Linked DNA regions of Homo sapiens: region 2 is linked to region 1. The links are contacts of gene promoters, found by promoter capture Hi-C in blood cells and fetal thymus (Javierre and others, 2016). All regions are on one chromosome and are shown on one strand. Each heading gives the region's core, a stretch centred on a gene start or on the middle of the fragment in contact. The rest is flanking DNA. Distances are from core to core; before and after follow the strand shown.

Evidence for each region. The method cuts DNA at HindIII sites, captures the fragments that hold promoters and counts their contacts. A CHiCAGO score of 5 or more calls a contact.
Region 2: a fragment that was not itself captured here is called in contact with the fragment with the promoter of SCAF8 in region 1 in 4 of 17 cell types (total CD4 T cells, neutrophils, naive CD8 T cells and 1 more); the score reaches 8.8 in total CD4 T cells.

The regions. Positions count from the first base shown.
Region 1 is chr6:154,731,193-154,734,877 of GRCh38, forward strand. It overlaps SCAF8 (SR-related CTD associated factor 8), which reads left to right and starts at 2,224. Exons shown (of 20, transcript NM_014892.5): 1 at 2,224-2,738. The coding sequence starts at 2,709. RefSeq lists silencers at 1,857-2,096, 2,127-2,246, 2,397-2,996 and an enhancer at 2,257-2,760. The HindIII fragment of the contact is 14,602 bases long and covers 26-3,685 here.
Region 2 is chr6:154,219,095-154,223,100 of GRCh38, forward strand. It overlaps IPCEF1 (interaction protein for cytohesin exchange factors 1), which reads right to left. Exons shown (of 12, transcript NM_001130700.2): 7 at 2,163-2,234. It also overlaps a transcript of OPRM1 not described here. Among named protein-coding and RNA genes, the nearest start is that of IPCEF1, 140 kb to the right of the region's middle. The HindIII fragment of the contact is 1,607 bases long and covers 710-2,316 here.

The DNA of each region.
Region 1 (3,685 bases), core at 974-3,473:
CCTCTGTTACCATTCTGAATGCGGAAGCTTTATTAAATCAAATTGTGAAGCATGTTAACCACTGATTTTATCCTTTAGCTTGTATTGCATTTTAATTTCTCAGGCCTAAGTAATTCCATCAACACTCATTTCATGTATGACCTAATAAATAATCCCTCACAGGCCAAAGCAGCGCCTTTTTTTTCCGTTCTTTTCTTTTTTGTTTCTCTTTTTGAGACAGAGCTTCACTCTTGTTGCCCCGGCTGGAGTGCAGTCACGCGATCTCGGCACGCTGCAACCTCCGCCTCCCGGGTTCAAGCGAATCTCCTGCCTCGGCCTCCCGAGTAGCTGGGACTACAAGGGCGTGCCACCACGCCTGGCTACTTTTTTTGTATTTTTAGTACAGACGGGATTTCACCATGTTGGCCAGGCTGGTCTCGAACTCCTAACCTCAGGTGATCCACCCGCCTCGGTCTCCCAAAGTGCTCGGATTACAGGCGAGAGCCACCACACCCGGCCTCAAAGCAGTGACTTCTGATTGTGAGAACCTGGCATGCACAGAACTGAGTGCAGTACTTTCTCAAGCCACAGTAAATGCTCCTTTAGATGGAGTGATTAGGGGACCTCTTTCAGGAAGATTGAAGGAGGAGGAGTCAGCTATGGAAAGGACAAGAGCAACAGCACCCTGTGTGAAGAGACACAATTGTCCTACCTATGAAAACACTGCTTCTTGTCAAGTAACAGAAAGGCCAGTGTGGCAGGAGGAGAGTCAGGGAGCAAGGGAAGGTGGTGTGAGCTGCGGCAGGCTGGGCTGGGCCTTCAGGCCATGGTGAGAAGTTATGATGGTATCAAATGGGCAATGAGAAAGTATTTAAGGGATTTAAGTAAGGGAGTGACCTGATCTGATTTATCTAAGAAAAACATCCCTCGGCTACTGTCTGGAAATGAACTGTAGGAAGACAAGCAAGGGACCAGTTAGGAGGCTACTGCAAGTGTCAGTAAAAGATCATGGCTAGGCCTGAAGATGGGAGACGGTGGAGAAATCTGTGACAGAATTTGAGATTTTGAAAGTAAATATAAAAGCACTTGGTGAGTTATCCCTGTTACCTTCTCAGTAGCCAGGCCCTATACTAAAGCTGCCAATGAAGTAGAATGAAGGCTCTGAAACCTCAAGAAGGGCCTTACTTTCCCAGTTTCACGGGGCTCTGCGCACAGCTCTTAGGAACTACCTTGATTCCAAAACTCTCCAAAAGTACGATCCTGCCCTTATGTTCCTCTCTCCCTTTGAGTGAATTTGGGAATGATTGTTGAAAAATGACTTTCAACAAGAGGACAGCAGTGTTCGGGGTTCCACGATACATCCCTATCTTTTAACATCGATAAGTATTTTTAAATTGGTACCTTATTTTGCGCTGCACGAGAGAGAAGGCTTTTTACTAGCAGCATCTCCTAATCCATCTAAGAAATACTGTATTTACCTTTACTCCAAGTATCCTAGGGCAAAATTCCTTTAGAACAATTCATCTTCCGAAACAGACGGGTTCCCTTTTCACCTATTCAAGTGTTGTGCATTCTAGGGTCCCCTTCCCGCCTTGCAGACAAATGCGCTCATTGTGCCACTCCAGTCCCTGGATCCTATGCAGCGGGCATTTCCTGCAAGGAGCTGCTGCATGCCTGTTTCCCTCGCCGCCTGCCCCAACCCGAATCCAAGGCTTTGGTTTCTAATGTTCCCTCCCTGTGCAGTTAAAACAATTGAGTTCAGTTACTAAATAGATGACCAGGAACTTTTTCTTGGCGAAGGCTGCGGATGTTTAGGGCACTGTCCAGTAAAGTTGTGAAAAGCAACTAAACCCTGCCGCTTGTGCAAAAGGACCAATCCACCGGGAAACAAGGGAAACGCGCACATTTCCTCAACTTGCCGCTTCTTGGGCACGTTTAGGCTCTTATTAGAGCCGCGCTTTGGAGTTGCCTCCTCCTGCTGTACAAACCCGCCGCGGCGTTCCCCCGGATGCCGCAGCGCTCACTCCCGCGTCCGCGGGGCGCGGGGAGGGGGCGAGGCGCGGGCGGCCCCGGAGCCAAGGCGAGGGCAGCGGAGCCCAGCCGGGCCTACGGGCGGCGACGCTCTGGCCCCAGCGCGCTCGATGGTTTCCGCGCGGCCGCCGGGGCTCGCACGGTCCAGTCGCCAGGGGGCGCGCTAGCCGGCGCCGCGGATCCCCGAACTGCGCGGCCCGACTCGAGTCCGCCATATTGGATGCCGCAGCCGCTGCTGCCAGCGCTTCCTCCTCTGTCTTCGCCGAGCGGGGCTGGTTCCTGCGGCCCGAGCGGCGGGGAGGTGAAACAGGAGCCCGTCGGAGGAAGGGGCAGAAGGGAGTGGAGAGTGTAGGGGAAGGGGCTAGAGGGAGGGGGACCGAAACGGAGCGGGGCAGAGAAGAGAAGGCGCCGCGGCCCAGCCCCTCCCCCGCCCGCCGCCGACCCGCCCCGGCAGCGCCTCTGTTCCCTAGAACGGCGCTCCCCCCGCCCTAGCGGCCATGCCGGTGCCGCTCTGCCGCTGAGGGAGCCCTTCCCCGCCAGCGCGTGCCCTTCCACTCCGCCCCGAGGTCGCAGCGGCCCGCTCTCCCGCCAGCGCCCCCTCCTCGCGGCCACGCAGCAGCCCGCGTCTCGCTCTCCCCACCCAGTGCAGTGGCCGCCGCCTCTTCCGCCGCCGGGCTCGGGGCCTCCGCAGCGACAACATGGAGGCCGTGAAGACCTTCAATAGCGAGGTTGGTATGGCAGCCGGGTTCCCCTGCTCCTGCCCGCACCGCCCCCACCCCTGGTCGAGGCCGGGGCCCGGAGGGTGGGCGCGGGCCTGCGGGTTTTTTAAGGGTGGGGTGAGCGGTGGCCTAGCAGTGCCCGTGGGGGAGGGGTGTTTCTCCTCTGGGTGCCCCTCCCCCGGGTCCGGGAGGAGGGTTGGGGGAGGGCCGCCCTGGGGCGGAGGGAGGTTCTGGCGTCTCCGGCGTCCTATGGAATGGCTGCGAGCTCGGAGGGAAAGACCCGGTTGGGCCCTCACCCGGAGACTCCCGACAGGTCCCTCGAGGTCAGTTCCGCCGAGGCCTGGCCCGCCCACCTCCTTCCTGGGCCTTTGAGGATTTAAGTGGACGCTGGACATGACTCTCCAGACCTTCCCGGGTCCTCACTGAGGCTAACACCGATTGGGGGCGGTGGGGGAAATGAACCTACGGGGTGTTGATCTGTGGTCACGTTACACGTAGTGTTTATAATTGAGGCATTGTTGACTAGGTAATTTGCCAGCTAGGGACTTGAGCTAATTGGATGGTTGGTAGGCAGGCAAAGGTTATTCTGCAATATCTTTTATTTTTACTCGCTCCTCTTCTAATCCATCACGACATAAAGACAAATGGTAGGGAGAGATCTGTGCATCGAGAGATGGAAGATTATGGGGGAAACATTTCTCGCTGGTTCATTCACGTGTCAAACAAGATTTTAAAAAGCAGATTCCATTTTCACTGTGTAGTTGAATTTACTAGTCTGGAAGAAGACAGGTTTTGATGTATTCAATTTCTTTTTAAACTCCGACTTCAATAGGCCTTAATGTAAACATCAAACATAGCAAGTACACATCTGCACAGTCAGCATTAGTATCCCTACCCGTACGCCTTGGAAAGTGTAATTATGGCCGGGAACAGTGGCTCAGGCCTGTAATCCCAGC
Region 2 (4,006 bases), core at 263-2,762, 510 kb before region 1:
AACTGGAAATGTAAATAAACACTGGGGCGGTGAGGAGGGGGATCTGGGATTTACAGAGCAAACGTGCATGAAATACAACGGATTCAGATAAACATGGAAGGGTCTCACACTTTCATCGGTTTAAAAATGCACCTTACTGTGTAGGAGGAGAAATTCACTAGGTAACAAACAAAGCACTGAGAAGCAATTGTTTCTCTGCTACTCTGTCTCACTCACCTCTTGCTGGAGAGAGGAAAACTACTTGCAAGGAATCAGCCACAGAATGAGTGGGAAGGACGGGCCAAGGATGGAAGCTGGAGCTACAAGGCACTTTTAAAGAAAAGCCAGGACAGCAGGAGGTATTGGGCAGGGGAGAGGCGGGCAGCACTGTTTCACCACCATTCAAGACCAGAAAAGACCATTTGGGATGAACTGAGGCTCAGCGGCGGACTGACCTCACTATCACAGGGCTCCAAGTGCTAGCGGGCGAGACCTTGTGCCTTCCACATCCCACTTACACAGCAAGGGCTTTGCTAACCAACAGGATTTAGCAACTGATGCAAATAAAAAAAAAATAAGTAAAGATCTTTGATGTGGAGATTTTAACATCCTCTCCATTCGTGTATCTGTTCTTATTTTTCTCAGATGCTTAAGAAAACCAAGGGGATAAAAAAAAGCTAAAACTAGAAAAAGGATAGAAACAACTTCTCTCTTTGTCCAAGTAAATCAAAGCTTTGTTTGGAAGACTCAACTGTCCGTTCCTTGCCTTGTTATTTCTAACACAGAGCTTCCCGACTTTCTACAGTACAAAGCCATTCTGTCCTCATCTGGAGGGTGATGCTGGGGAGGTGAGGATAGGGGACAGATGAGAGTCCTTCTAGCTGGACAGAGCTGAGCGGATACCTGTAAGGAGTGTGTGTGTGTGTGTGTGTGTGTGTGTGTGTGTGTGTGTGTGTCCATGCACATGTTTGGTGAAAGGCAGTTGCTTTTTTTCTTCATGTTTCTAGAGCAAGAGAGCAATGAGAACTACATAGGGCAGATAGGTAAGGAAATCATTATAAGTAAAACAGGTTAAGCGTAAGCTCTGTGAATGGAGGAATTATGTGTGGGTTTTTCATTGCCATTGCCCACCATCTGCTGCAATGGGGCATGTGGTAGGCGTTCCATTAACATATTTTCAATTGGTCATGTGAAATAATAAGAGACACTAAGAATTCTGAGAATAGGGCTAAATCAAAGAGAATGCCCTCTGATATCTCCAATCAGCACCTCAAATACAGCCTGATTCAAACAGCCATTGTTGACCAGGTGCGGTGGCTTACGCCTTAGTTCCAGCACTTTGAGAGGCCGAGGTGGGTGGATCACTTGAGGTCAGGAGTTCGAGACCAGCCTGGCCAACATGGTGAAACCCACAAGAAACACAAAAAATTAGCTGGGCATGGTGGTGCACGCCTGTAACTTGGGAGGCTGATGCAGGAGAATCATTCGAACTCAGGATGCAGAGGTTGCAGTGAGCCGAGATCGCACCACTGCACTCCAGCCTGGGCAACAGAACAAGACTGTCTCAAAAATAAATAAATAAATAAATAACAGCTATTGTGATCACACCTGACTCTAAACCATTAGGAATGGTGTAGGGCAGGTTGTACTCTGCACACAGCCCACTTATTTTCACAGACCACCCTGGAAATGGAGCTAGGGATCTACAATTTTAAGTTTGATGTACTCCGAGCAAAGGCGTTTTGCAATATGTTCAGGACAATACATGGAGAGGTGATAAATACGTGAATCATCACGATAATCACACAGCATATATTAAACGCTATAGCAATATTTTGCATGTAGAATTCCGAAAGCTGCAAGATCAGTTACATAATACTTTCAAGCCTCTCTCCTTGTGATGCTGATTCTCCTTTTAACATGTTCTTTTAATGACTTCTGTCCACTCCTTTTTCAACTTAGTGGTTCCCCGAAATAGCCACTTTGATACATGTAATTCTCCAAACCGTTTCCAAATACTAGAGAAGAAAGCACGAAGGCATTGTAACTGCTAAATAAATTAATCCTTAAAGTAACAGAAATAAAATAATAATTGATATGGACATATGATTAGAATTCCAGTACCAGGCTAAAGTTAAGTATATTCCCATTAAGGATGGGGTTTACCAGTTTCCTCTACTTACACGTTCATTTCCTGCACATTCTCAGCTGCAAAATAAAAGGTCTTGATCTGTGGATGGCTGATCTTAAAAGCACTTGAAGGAGGAAAAGCACAAACACATAAAAAATTAGTGTTTATAGTCAACAATGGGTCTGAAAGTAAATCAGTAAAATACAAGCTTTGTAAACTTGTCTGCTTTCTTTGTAAATTTACAAAAAATAATTTAGTAATATTAGATACCTATTGTCTAGTCTCTGTTTCATATAGAGAACTAAGAGTCAATTTTTTATGTCAGAACGTCCAGAACAGGGCTGAGTCTTAGCTGGTCAGTAGTTTCCATTTAAAACATATAGGTATGGCCGGGCACGGTGGCTCACGCCTGTAATCCTAGCACTTTGGGAGGCCGAGGCGGGCAGATCACGAGGTCAGGAGATCGAGACCATCCTGGCTAACATGGTGAAACCCCGTCTCTACTAAATATACAAAAAAATTAGCCGGGCATGGTGGCGGGCACCTCTAGTCCCAGCTACCCGGGAGGCTGAGGCAGGAGAATGGCATGAACCTGGGAGGCAGAGCTTGCAGTGAGCCGAGATCATGCCACTGCACTCCAGTCTGGGTGACAGAGGAAGACTCCGTCTCAAAAAACAAATAAATAAATAAAAAATAAAACATATAGGTATATCCTCTTCCTTTCACTTGCTAACTGCTTTGCTATAAAGATACAATAAATTCAATTTTAAAGTGATAGAAATAACACTTCAAAATATTCAGAACAACTACTTCAAGCAAGGTATTTCTTCACTTTCAATCAAATATACAGAAGAATTTTTATAGGAGAATAATCAGGTATGGAACGTCCACTCTGCAGCAACACATCAGAAATCTTATTCAAGGCACCCTTTGTTAGTAAAGGGAAATATGAAATAGATTTTAATATAAAAGAAAAGCAGAAAACATTGAAGATAACAAATGAGAAGGGCTTCCACTTTACCCTTTAGGCAGGAAGTCCTGCAGCACGGCACAGGCCAGGGTTTTTGTAAATAGCCAATCCTTTTCAAACCACAAGAATCAGCACTGGACATGTGCAACCACACCACAGAGGCAAAGACTTAAAGCTAACACCAGTTTACTAACCTTGTTAAAAGAAAACTACTCAATTGCTGCAACTAGTCACATAGGACAAAAAGGAAGGCCCCTTTCTGATAAGACTGGAAAAGATGTCAAAGGTAGAAGAAATAATAAGAAAAAGGTGAAAATGGACACATACGCAAAATATAGCAGACTGCTATCATGGGAGGAGCACTTGAATGAGAGTCTATAGATACCTGGGTTTACAGCCAGCCCGCTCATGAGATCTAAGCAGGTCACAAACTCTTTGGGCTGTTTCCTTCTCAGGAAAACCAGGACCATGAGCTGGTAATTTTTTTTGGTCCCTGTCAGTGCTCAAATCTTTTGGATTTCAATTAGATCAGAGTGTAATCTCCAAGCTTAAGACATCTCAGAAAATTCAATTCCAAGTGTGCATCTGACAACTCCATGAACTAAGAAAGAAAAGCTGGTCTTGCTGGCGTATCTGCAACTCGGGTGAGTCCTATTTAACTGCTTGTTTTTTCTTTAGTAGAACCGAAGCTTGACATCTGACCTCCCTGCCAGTCCTGGAGGGGGTTTATTCCATCACAGACACAGTCATCAACAACAGTCCATGCCAAGACTTCGTGGGGGTTTTAAAATCCATCTGCTCCACAAAACGAAATTCCAGAAAATGAGAGGTTAAATGCTTCTATTTCTATGTAGGGTGCCAACCCATAATGCTTCAAATTCTCAGACATTCCGATGTTACCTTCACTCACTTCTAAATCACCATAT